Linked DNA regions of Homo sapiens: region 1 is linked to region 2. Evidence: promoter capture Hi-C in 16 types of primary human blood cells and fetal thymus (Javierre and others, 2016). All regions are on one chromosome and are shown on one strand. The core of a region is centred on a gene start or on the middle of the fragment in contact, and the rest is flanking DNA. Distances in the headings are between cores, read along the strand shown. Region 1 holds the start of PLEKHA2 (pleckstrin homology domain containing A2). Region 2 holds the start of AGPAT5 (1-acylglycerol-3-phosphate O-acyltransferase 5).

What was found. Contacts are between HindIII fragments. The CHiCAGO score rates a contact against its expected background, and 5 or more counts as called.
Region 1: the fragment with the promoter of PLEKHA2 here is called in contact with the fragment with the promoter of AGPAT5 in region 2 in 1 of 17 cell types (non-activated CD4 T cells); the score reaches 5.5 in non-activated CD4 T cells.

The regions. Positions count from the first base shown.
Region 1 is chr8:38,899,103-38,903,572 of GRCh38, reverse strand. PLEKHA2 (pleckstrin homology domain containing A2) reads right to left here and starts at 2,227. Exons shown (of 12, transcript NM_021623.2): 1 at 2,128-2,227. LOC124901937 (a long non-coding RNA gene) reads left to right here and starts at 2,128. Exons shown (of 2, transcript XR_007060893.1): 1 at 2,128-2,360; 2 at 2,877-4,323. RefSeq lists silencers at 1,556-2,225, 2,306-2,715 and enhancers at 3,316-3,565, 3,626-3,815. The HindIII fragment of the contact is 6,068 bases long and covers 679-4,470 here.
Region 2 is chr8:6,707,035-6,711,210 of GRCh38, reverse strand. It overlaps AGPAT5 (1-acylglycerol-3-phosphate O-acyltransferase 5), which reads right to left and starts at 2,569. Exons shown (of 8, transcript NM_018361.5): 1 at 2,324-2,569. The coding sequence starts at 2,542. MCPH1-AS1 (MCPH1 antisense RNA 1) reads left to right here and starts at 3,002. Exons shown (of 5, transcript NR_125386.1): 1 at 3,002-3,070. RefSeq lists silencers at 2,176-2,415, 2,476-2,815. The HindIII fragment of the contact is 5,238 bases long and covers 1-4,176 here.

The DNA.
Region 1 (4,470 bases), core at 978-3,477, about 32 Mb before region 2:
CTTCCCCTTCCCACTTCTGCAGAACAAAAACCTGCACCAACCAAAACCTGCATGTCTTCAAGATTTATTTTAACCACTCAAAAATACCGAGCTGAATATGGTTCAGCTCACTACCATGACATGATGGGATCTGCAGGCCCTATTTCCTTAACACAGAAGAGAGAAGAAAGCACCAATGACAAGGAAAAAGAAAGGGTTGCAAAAACTCTTCACCAAAGGGCAGGCAGTTTCTCAATCAATACCAAGGTAATTACCAATCTGTGAAATGAGCAAGGCTCCCATTACCAGCTAGCTAAAACCCCACTAGGAGTGCCATAGACAATTTGTAGAAAGCATGCTGTAATGTACAAACAGGGTCAAAGGATACTTAGGTGTAAAGGCAACATCCGGACTAATAACTCCCATGTACCAGCTTGGAGAACCAAATCCCTACAGGTTTGAGGAACAACCACACTGCTCTTTTCTCTGCCATTTGGACAAGTGCAAACAATTCATGTGTTTGCATTCATTCATTAATGCAATAAACATTTACTTAGCACCTGGTACATGTCATACGTTGGGCTGGCCATAATCTAGACTACAAGCTAGACCTCTGATAGTGCAAAAGTCATCTGCCTTCAGGCGGCACATGGTGAAGAGGGCTAATGTCTGAGATGATGATGATGCTTTCTAAAAGCTTACTCTGGCTTCTCAAAACAAGTGGGGGGCTTACAAGTCCTGTAAGCTCGCCAAAGACAGGGTCCAGCCCTCCAGAGGTAAAGGAAAAAGAAAAAATAAAGACAGGGGTTGTGTTTTGTTCATCACTGCCTTGCATGTATAATACATGTCAACTGAATGCAACTGAAATAGAAAGCAAAAACTTCTATTCTTTCAAGATCTTTTGCTTTGCTGTTTCGGAAGGCTTCGCAACCAAAGAAAAAAAATGACAAAAGAAGGGAAAATGGGACTTGGTCAGATAGATTAAGAACACCATTAGTGCAATCTTGGGACTTCAGCCCCAAGTGCATCTACAGCTCAGCCTTCAGAGCCCCCAGAGCCACAGCTGGCTTTCTGGTGGGGTGCTCTCCCCTCCCTCTTCTCTGCCGTTTACTGTCCTCTGAAAACCCCACTTGGAGCCCTAAAGAAAGAAAGGGGGCGGGCAGGAAGAAGGAATGAGAAGGGGAAGATACATCCTGAACCTGCGTTCACCAAGAAGGAAGGAAGCCAAACCCTAAGGCTAGGGCCTGGGGGCAGGGCTGGCCCCGGGGAGGAGATGTGAGGGTGCTCCGGCCGCAGCGGGCCCTGCGCCCCTCTCTGGGCGTGCAGGGACACTTTTCCCTTCTAAACGGCCTAGCTTCCCACCACCCCCCCCCACACCCTTCTTTTCTCTTTCTTTTTAAAAAAATTTTGGTGAAATCGTCTTTAGGACTGGAGGAGAAAAGGGAAGCGTGTAAGGTGAGGAAGAAGTTGGTGAGAGAGAGAACGACAGCTCCCCTCGAGGGCTCACCCAACCTGGCACCGAACCTGCATTTTAGGGCAGTCCTTTTCACTGTCTGGAGTTCCAGAAGCCCGAAGTCCAGGCTGCACCCAGAGGAAAGGACAGGAGTCCCTAGGGGAGCCTTCTAGGCCTGTCATTTAATAAGGTAGTCGGGGGAGTGAAAGAGGAGTCTCCATGGCCCAATCCGTACCCAAGGGACTTGCCTGGGGACGTTCTCTGCTCTCCTCCCCTCCCGCAGCCCGGGCAGTCGTTGCGGGGTCGGTGCCCCAGCGCCAGAACCCGCAGAGAAGTTTCGCTGCTGCAAACGTGAGAAAATGCAGCTCAGCAGAACTCCCGCCCCCACCCTCTCCGCGGCCCCACCCCCCGCAGCCCGACCCCTGGCGGCGGCGACCTTGGCCACCCGGGGCACTTGGAGGAGGGGCTGCCCTCGGGGCTCTCCCAGAGGGTTGGAGGAGGCCTCCAGGGTCTGCGGCCACCTCCCCTCGCCTGTCAGCCACTAGGACCGGCGTATTCAGCCCTGCGCGCGCGCCCCTCGCGCCCCTAGGCCGCCAGGCCTCCGCCGGGGCGCCCCCTGCACCCCCAGCCCCGCCAGCCCCCGCGCGCCCCTCTGCGCCTCTCCACTCCCGAGCCCGCGAGGGCGCCCAACTTACCCCCCCGTGCAGGGGCCGGGGCTCGGGCGGGGCGCGTTACATCGGGCGGGGTCGCCCCTCCGGCCGCCGGGTCCGCCGCGCTCCAGGGATTTCTGGGTCTGCCTGCCAAACTCTCCGCGCCTCTCGCTCCCCTCGCTCTGGTCTCCCCCAGTGCCCCCTCCTTCTCTCCCGTCCCTCGGCTCTTTTTTCCGGGTTAATTACGTTTCGCATTAAAGCAAAACCCAGCCCCGGATGTGAGTACAATGCTCCGCGGAGCCCGCCGGGGAGGGAGAGGGGTGCCGGGGCGCCGCGGGCTGGGAGGGGGTGCGGCCGGGCGCCGGGGCCGCGCGGGGGAGGCGGGGGCGGGGCGCCCGGAGGCTGCGCCCGAGGCCGCCCGCGTTCCGCGCCTGGCAGGTGGGACCTGCGCGCCGAGACTGCCCCGCGGGGAGGCCCGGCCCCGACGCTCGCTCGGGCAGCAGGTGTCCGGGCAGGGGGCGTCCTCGCAGGAGGAGGCGAGCTGGAGCGCGAGCTCCCTCAAGAACCCCATTTCCTCCTCCCAGAGCCCCACCCAGCGACCTCAGCTGGGCCTCCTTCGGATCCCGAGCCCTTAGCCTTTGGGGACCGAGGAGTTGGGGTAAGGGTTAGGGTCCCAAGAAGAGTGGCTTCTTCAGGTTGTCCTAAATGTGCCCTAAGAGACCAGTGGGCGGGAACGCTCTAACCAGGGTTATAAGGACTTTAATTTCTTTATTTTATTTTATTTTTTAATCAAGACAGGGTCTGGCTCTGTCGCCCAGGCTGGAGTGCGGTGGCGCAGTCATAGCTCACTGCAGCCTCGACCTCCTGGGTCCAGCGATCCTTCTGCCCCAGCCTCCCGAGTAGCTGGGACCACAGGCGCCTACACCGTGCCCGTTGGGACTTTTTCGGTGTGATGCGAAGACTCCCTTCCTGCCCCCAGAGCATGAGGGTGCTCTGGGAAAAAATGGGAAACAGACAAGCATGTGTTACTACGTAAACCTCGCCAAGAGGAACTAAGAGAGCTGCTGTGCGCGGGTCCCGCCCCTGCGCTATCTCATTTGATCCACGCCGCAACCTATGGGTACCAGTCCGGTTCACGGTGAGGAAACCGAGACTCAGACTTGTGAAGTAATTTGCCCTGGGTACCCAGTTAGTAAACGGCAGGTCTGTCAGGTTCTGACTCCGGCCTCCCACGTCGGGAGAGAGACATTTGAATATGCATCAAGTCAGGTGGACAACATCCGAAACATGAAAATGTAGAAGATTCGCGCGGGCCTGCGGGGCCGTGCGCCGGTGTCTGGCGATCCTAATGCAAACGTTGTTAATCAGGTGTAAATCCTACGAGGCTTTGAAAGAGGCAGGCATAAGAAGACGCTGAGGTTCTCCAGGACAAGGACTGGATTTGCAGGAAGGAGGGAGAGGCTGGGGCACATTCCCGGTGTTAACAGAGGAAAGGCGGCCTCTTATGTCTCCACGACCGACCGGAGGCCACAAGGCCTGGGGAGGGGGGCTCGGGCCGATGAGCCAGGACCGAGGGAGAAGGACAGCCCGCCCCACACACCCCGAAAGCACCAGTGATGAAACCACACAAGTTTCCTCTTCCATTTTGATTGCCAAAGCAAAAATGAACACCGCCGGTGTCTCAGGTGTGAAAAAAGACTGTTTGCTTTAGAGCATTTTGCTTTCAATGAGGAAGAAAAGGGGGACGATGGGCAAAACACACACACACACACACACACACACACACACACACACACACACACACATTTCCCTTGAAATAAATACATCAATGTCTTTTTTTTCCCCGTTCATGGAGGGTTTTGCCACTCATCTGTAAGTTTCAGGCACCAGAACAAACTGAAGAGCATCTCCTCTGGAAGCAAGGAACCTGGATTTGAAGCCCAGCTCTGCCGTTTACTGGCTTTGACCCCTGGGCAAGTTACTTAACTTCTCAATGCCTCTGTTAGGAAAAGTCAGTGAGTTAACATTTGTGAAGTGTTGAGATTCCTGTCGAACGTGAAGTAGGTGCTACGTAAATGTTTTTTAAATTTAAAAATTAGATGATCATTTTCAGTATGAAAAGCAACACAATTCCATCCAGCTCCAAGCAAATCCGACTGGAACTGAGGGTTTCCAGCATGAGCAATGAGGTAAATTTCTCAGATTTCAGGGTATGGTTCATATTAAACTCATAAAACTCTACTCCCCGTGGGGCTGCCTGAGTCACTCCATCACAGAGCCACAAGTATTTCCTGAGCACTACTGTTTTGGATGCTGGGAGGCAAAGAGAAGCAGAAGGCCTTGGGTGGCAAGAGAATACAGGTGTCTCTAGAAGGCTGAAGCAGGCTT
Region 2 (4,176 bases), core at 1,320-3,819:
ACTTCTCTTCAGCTTAAAAATTCTATGTAAAAGAAAATATTCTTCTGCAAGAACTACTGTGAACCACTTATTTTTTAAACCTAGAGTTGAAAGGTGTAAAAATGTCATTTAAAAAAAATTTTATTTTAAAATGCCTCTTTAATATATATAAATTAATAAACCTTTTATTTAAAAACTTATAACCTCTTAAATTACTAAAACTCCCTTCAGAAATGAGTCAACAATACTTTATACAGAACAAGAGAATCATCACTAGCCTTGCAAACGAAAGCTGATAAAAACAATTCAAGAAAAAAAGAGTGTCCTAACAAAACAAGAAAAGCAAGCTAAAAATTTTAATCAAAACATCTCAGTGACAAAGTTAATGGTACAAAGTCACAGGTAAAAAATAAGGTGACAGAACATCACTATAAATCTTTTTCCTTTGGGTCTTATGTTTGAAGATAGCTATTTATTCCTCTATTGATTTAATCTTAACAGAAACAATAAAAAATATTGAAAGGTAGCTTTGTGTACACAGGAAACCCAGATTGCAGAAAAAGACCCTAATAAATTCAAAATACCCTGCTCTGTTACTAAACAGAAAATAATTATTTGTCCCCTCCATACAATAAAAATAAAAATGCAGGAACAAGAAACTCTTGGTTTTAAATTTTTATTAAATGTTCATAACTTGCATTTGATGATCAGTGGGCAATCAGTTCGTTCTACGACTCCTAAAGAACTTCATCAAGGAACACACATTAAACAAAATTTTGAATTATACTTAAGGGTCCTCAGGCATCCTTTCATAAATGCATGAAAATTAGTGCTGGATGCCACTTCCTTTGATTTGAACAGACGGTGGGGGGAATGATTAGATTAAATGTTTTCAAAATCACTTGCTGGGAAATCAAGAAGTAAATCGGATCTCTGAACATCAGGTAAGGTATGCAATTTCAGAAACACTGCTAGGTTTTACAGCCATTTAAAAAAATAAGAACTTGCCAAACCAAAAAATCCTTCAATGGTGTATTCTGCATCATATTGTGTCCTCTTTGAACAAAAATAACATAACCCGCCACAGATAGAATTATTTTTTTAAGAGGTGAATGACTTTGTGTTCTGAGCTTATATCCCATCCCAGGCCAGTTGTCACATGATGTGGAAGTAAAAACTTAATCATGATAAAAATCATACATTTAGACAAACTTGGTGGAGTTACCATATAAAGGGAAAAAATTAGCCTGAATTATTGAAATTTTTAAATGAGGCCCATTTTAAACGTCAACTACCAGGAAACCATGACCTGGAACAGTATCTTTTTTTCTTTCCAAGGAGACACTTACAGACACTGGTTTAAATGGAGGCCCTGGCCTCTCCTAGTTCCTTCCCCCCAAACAACTTCCAACTGGGGCCATCAAGGGTCGATCAGCAGTGCAACTGCAAACTAAATATAGTACCTGACTGACCACAGGGTAAAAACAGCTGCTGTAGGTGGAAAAAAAAAAAGTTAAAAAGACAAAATGATACCGTCCCATTTCCCCATGCCACCCTAACCCTACCAAGAAAAGTAAAAGAGGACTAGGTGGACATTAGGAATAACCAAGAATAAAGCTGTTCTTTCAAACTGAGAAATAAAAGAAAAATTCACCTTTTTTTTTTTTTTATAACACTTCAAATACCTACTGTTAAAGAGGGCCTTCCACTTTTATGGTTTGTTTCTCAAGTTTAATCTACGAATCCAATCTCTACAGAGAAACAGTAACAGAAAGAAAGTAATCAGACAACAGATCACCCACACATTCAAGCCCAGTTAAAGTTGGCAAGAAATGTATCTAGTTAGGCTTCTACGGTTAACAAATGTATTCATTTCTTCGCCCAGCTTTCACTTGTCCAGGGGAAAGAACACAAGACCGAATTGTACTTCTGTTTCAAGAGGTCACTGTAAAAGCGCACTTCGGAGTGTAGACGTCTCCGATCTGTTCCAACATGACCACCTCTTTGGACCAAAGGCCAGAAACTGCTAAACGCGTGCCCTATTATTTAAAACGTGCATCTGCACCCACTTTGCTAAGCAGCATCAGACCCAGGCGAGGGGCGGGGAAAGGGGCGGCGGGTCCCACTCGTAGCCTCAGGACGACGCAGCCACAGCTTCCTAGAGAGCGATCTCGGCAGAACGGCAGGAAGCATGCGGAGAGGAAGGCGGGGAGGCGGCACGTGCTCTCCGTGCTGGGTCCGCCGGGCCGGCCGGGTGACCCTCGCCAGCTGTGGGGGAGCGGAGAGGTCCGCGCCCCCGGGAGCTCGGGTGGACGCCGAGACCCGGGAGCGGGAGGCGGCTCACCTGGACCCCGGTGTAATTCTCGAAGAAGAAGAGCACCATGCTCTGGTAGACGCAGTAGAGCCGGTCGTCCAGCGCTTGGTAGAAGCGGGCGGGCAGGAAGGCGGAGAGCAGCCGCCAGACCCCCCAGGCCAACACGTAGGTGGGCGCCGTGCCCAGGAGCACGACGCTGGGCAGCAGGTAGCGCATGGAGTACGTGTGGAGCACCAGGGACAGCAGCATCTTCTCAGCTCGGCGGCAGCGAGCTCCGCCTGCGCTCCCCGCCCGCCTCCCGGGCCTCAGTCGCGGCCAGCAGGCGGCCAATCACCGCCCGGGCCCGGGCCGCCGCGCCCGCCACCCGCTCCCAGCCTCCGCCCCCAGCCGCATGGGCCGCGCCGCCGCCCGGGGCCGGGTAGGCGAGTGCGGGGCTGCGTGCGCCGCTCCCGGCGGCAAAGCAAGGGAACCCGCGGCCCTCCCGGATCGATGGCTCAGGGATGCTCACACCCCATGACCCTCACCCATCGCCACATCCCCCTGCCGGGGCAGGGGGCTCCGCGGCAACAACGCGCCTTCTGATTGGTCGCCCGTTGCCATAGTTCCACCTCGGCGGCAATAACACGTCTCTTGATTGGTTGGTTTGGGCCGACAGTTGCAGTACAGCTACCTGCTGGGGCGCGGGCAACCCGGCTCCGGCCACTGCGCATGCTCCCCAGCTGGGCCGGCTGCGGACGCGGGAAGGGAGGTGGTGGCGACTGACGGAACTGGGTGAAGGTGGGTGCTGGCCGGAGGAGGGTCCGGGTGCCTCTTGTTCTGCTCCCTCGGGCCGGACGTGCGCGCGGTCAGGTTTAAGGGTCGCTGGAGCTGCCTGGAACGCGCACCTGCTGCTCACAAGCCCCTGGGCGCCGGGATGCACACAATTAGAGCAGTGAGAAAGTGGGTGTTAACGTTATCGGAGGTCTAATTCTTGCAGGCACCTGGGCCCAGGTTGTAGGCAGCTCGGCCCAGGTCGCGGGGCAGCTCGAGTGTCCCCATCTGCTCACTGCCAGTCCTTTGCAAGGGGACGCCGCCTCCTCAGCCTCCGCTCTGAGTGCGCAGCAGCCCCTCCTGCCCGTCTCTCGCTACCAGGGTGTTTCAGAATTAGGGTCCGTGTTTTTCCCCATCACAGTAATGATGATAATTACATGTTTATGCATAGCTGAAGAACAATCCCACAAGGATATTTCCATACTGTTTATTAGACCTTTTCAGAATTCACTCTTGCTTCATTTCCTCAGAGTCTGTTGGACTTGTTTCTGATTTTTTTTTAATAAGGAGCCTCGTTTTTTTCTGTAGTAATTAAAGTAGTTGCGTGCACATGTGTAATCCATAAAAAGCATACTTTTGTAGCCTTCACTAAAAGCTACGAAGGGTGGATAACTGTTTTATTGATGTTAAAGCAGATCCACAGGACTTTTGGATCTTTCTCCTCCCCTTTGGCTGTGGTAAAAATGGTTTAATATGTAACCCTTTTCAAGGATAGTTGTACTTTAAAAGAATGCCGAATGCTTTACCATATATATATATATATATATATATATATATATATATATATTCCCGCCCCCTCCCCACCACCACCATAATGGGAGCCTGTGCTACCTTTAGGCAGGACGGTATTTCAGTGGGAAGTTCTAATCAGGGCCAGGATGGTAGCTACTTTCTTTATACATGATTAACATCAAATAACAACATCATTGGTAGATGATGACCTTTGGGGACAAAGCCAGGTGAATGGAGATCTCTCAAGTAACAAGTATTTGAAGGCCAGCAGGAAGCATTACACAGTAAAAGGAGCTTCTCTCTTTCTGTGGCTGTCATTGTCCTGTACTGTAAGAAGCACT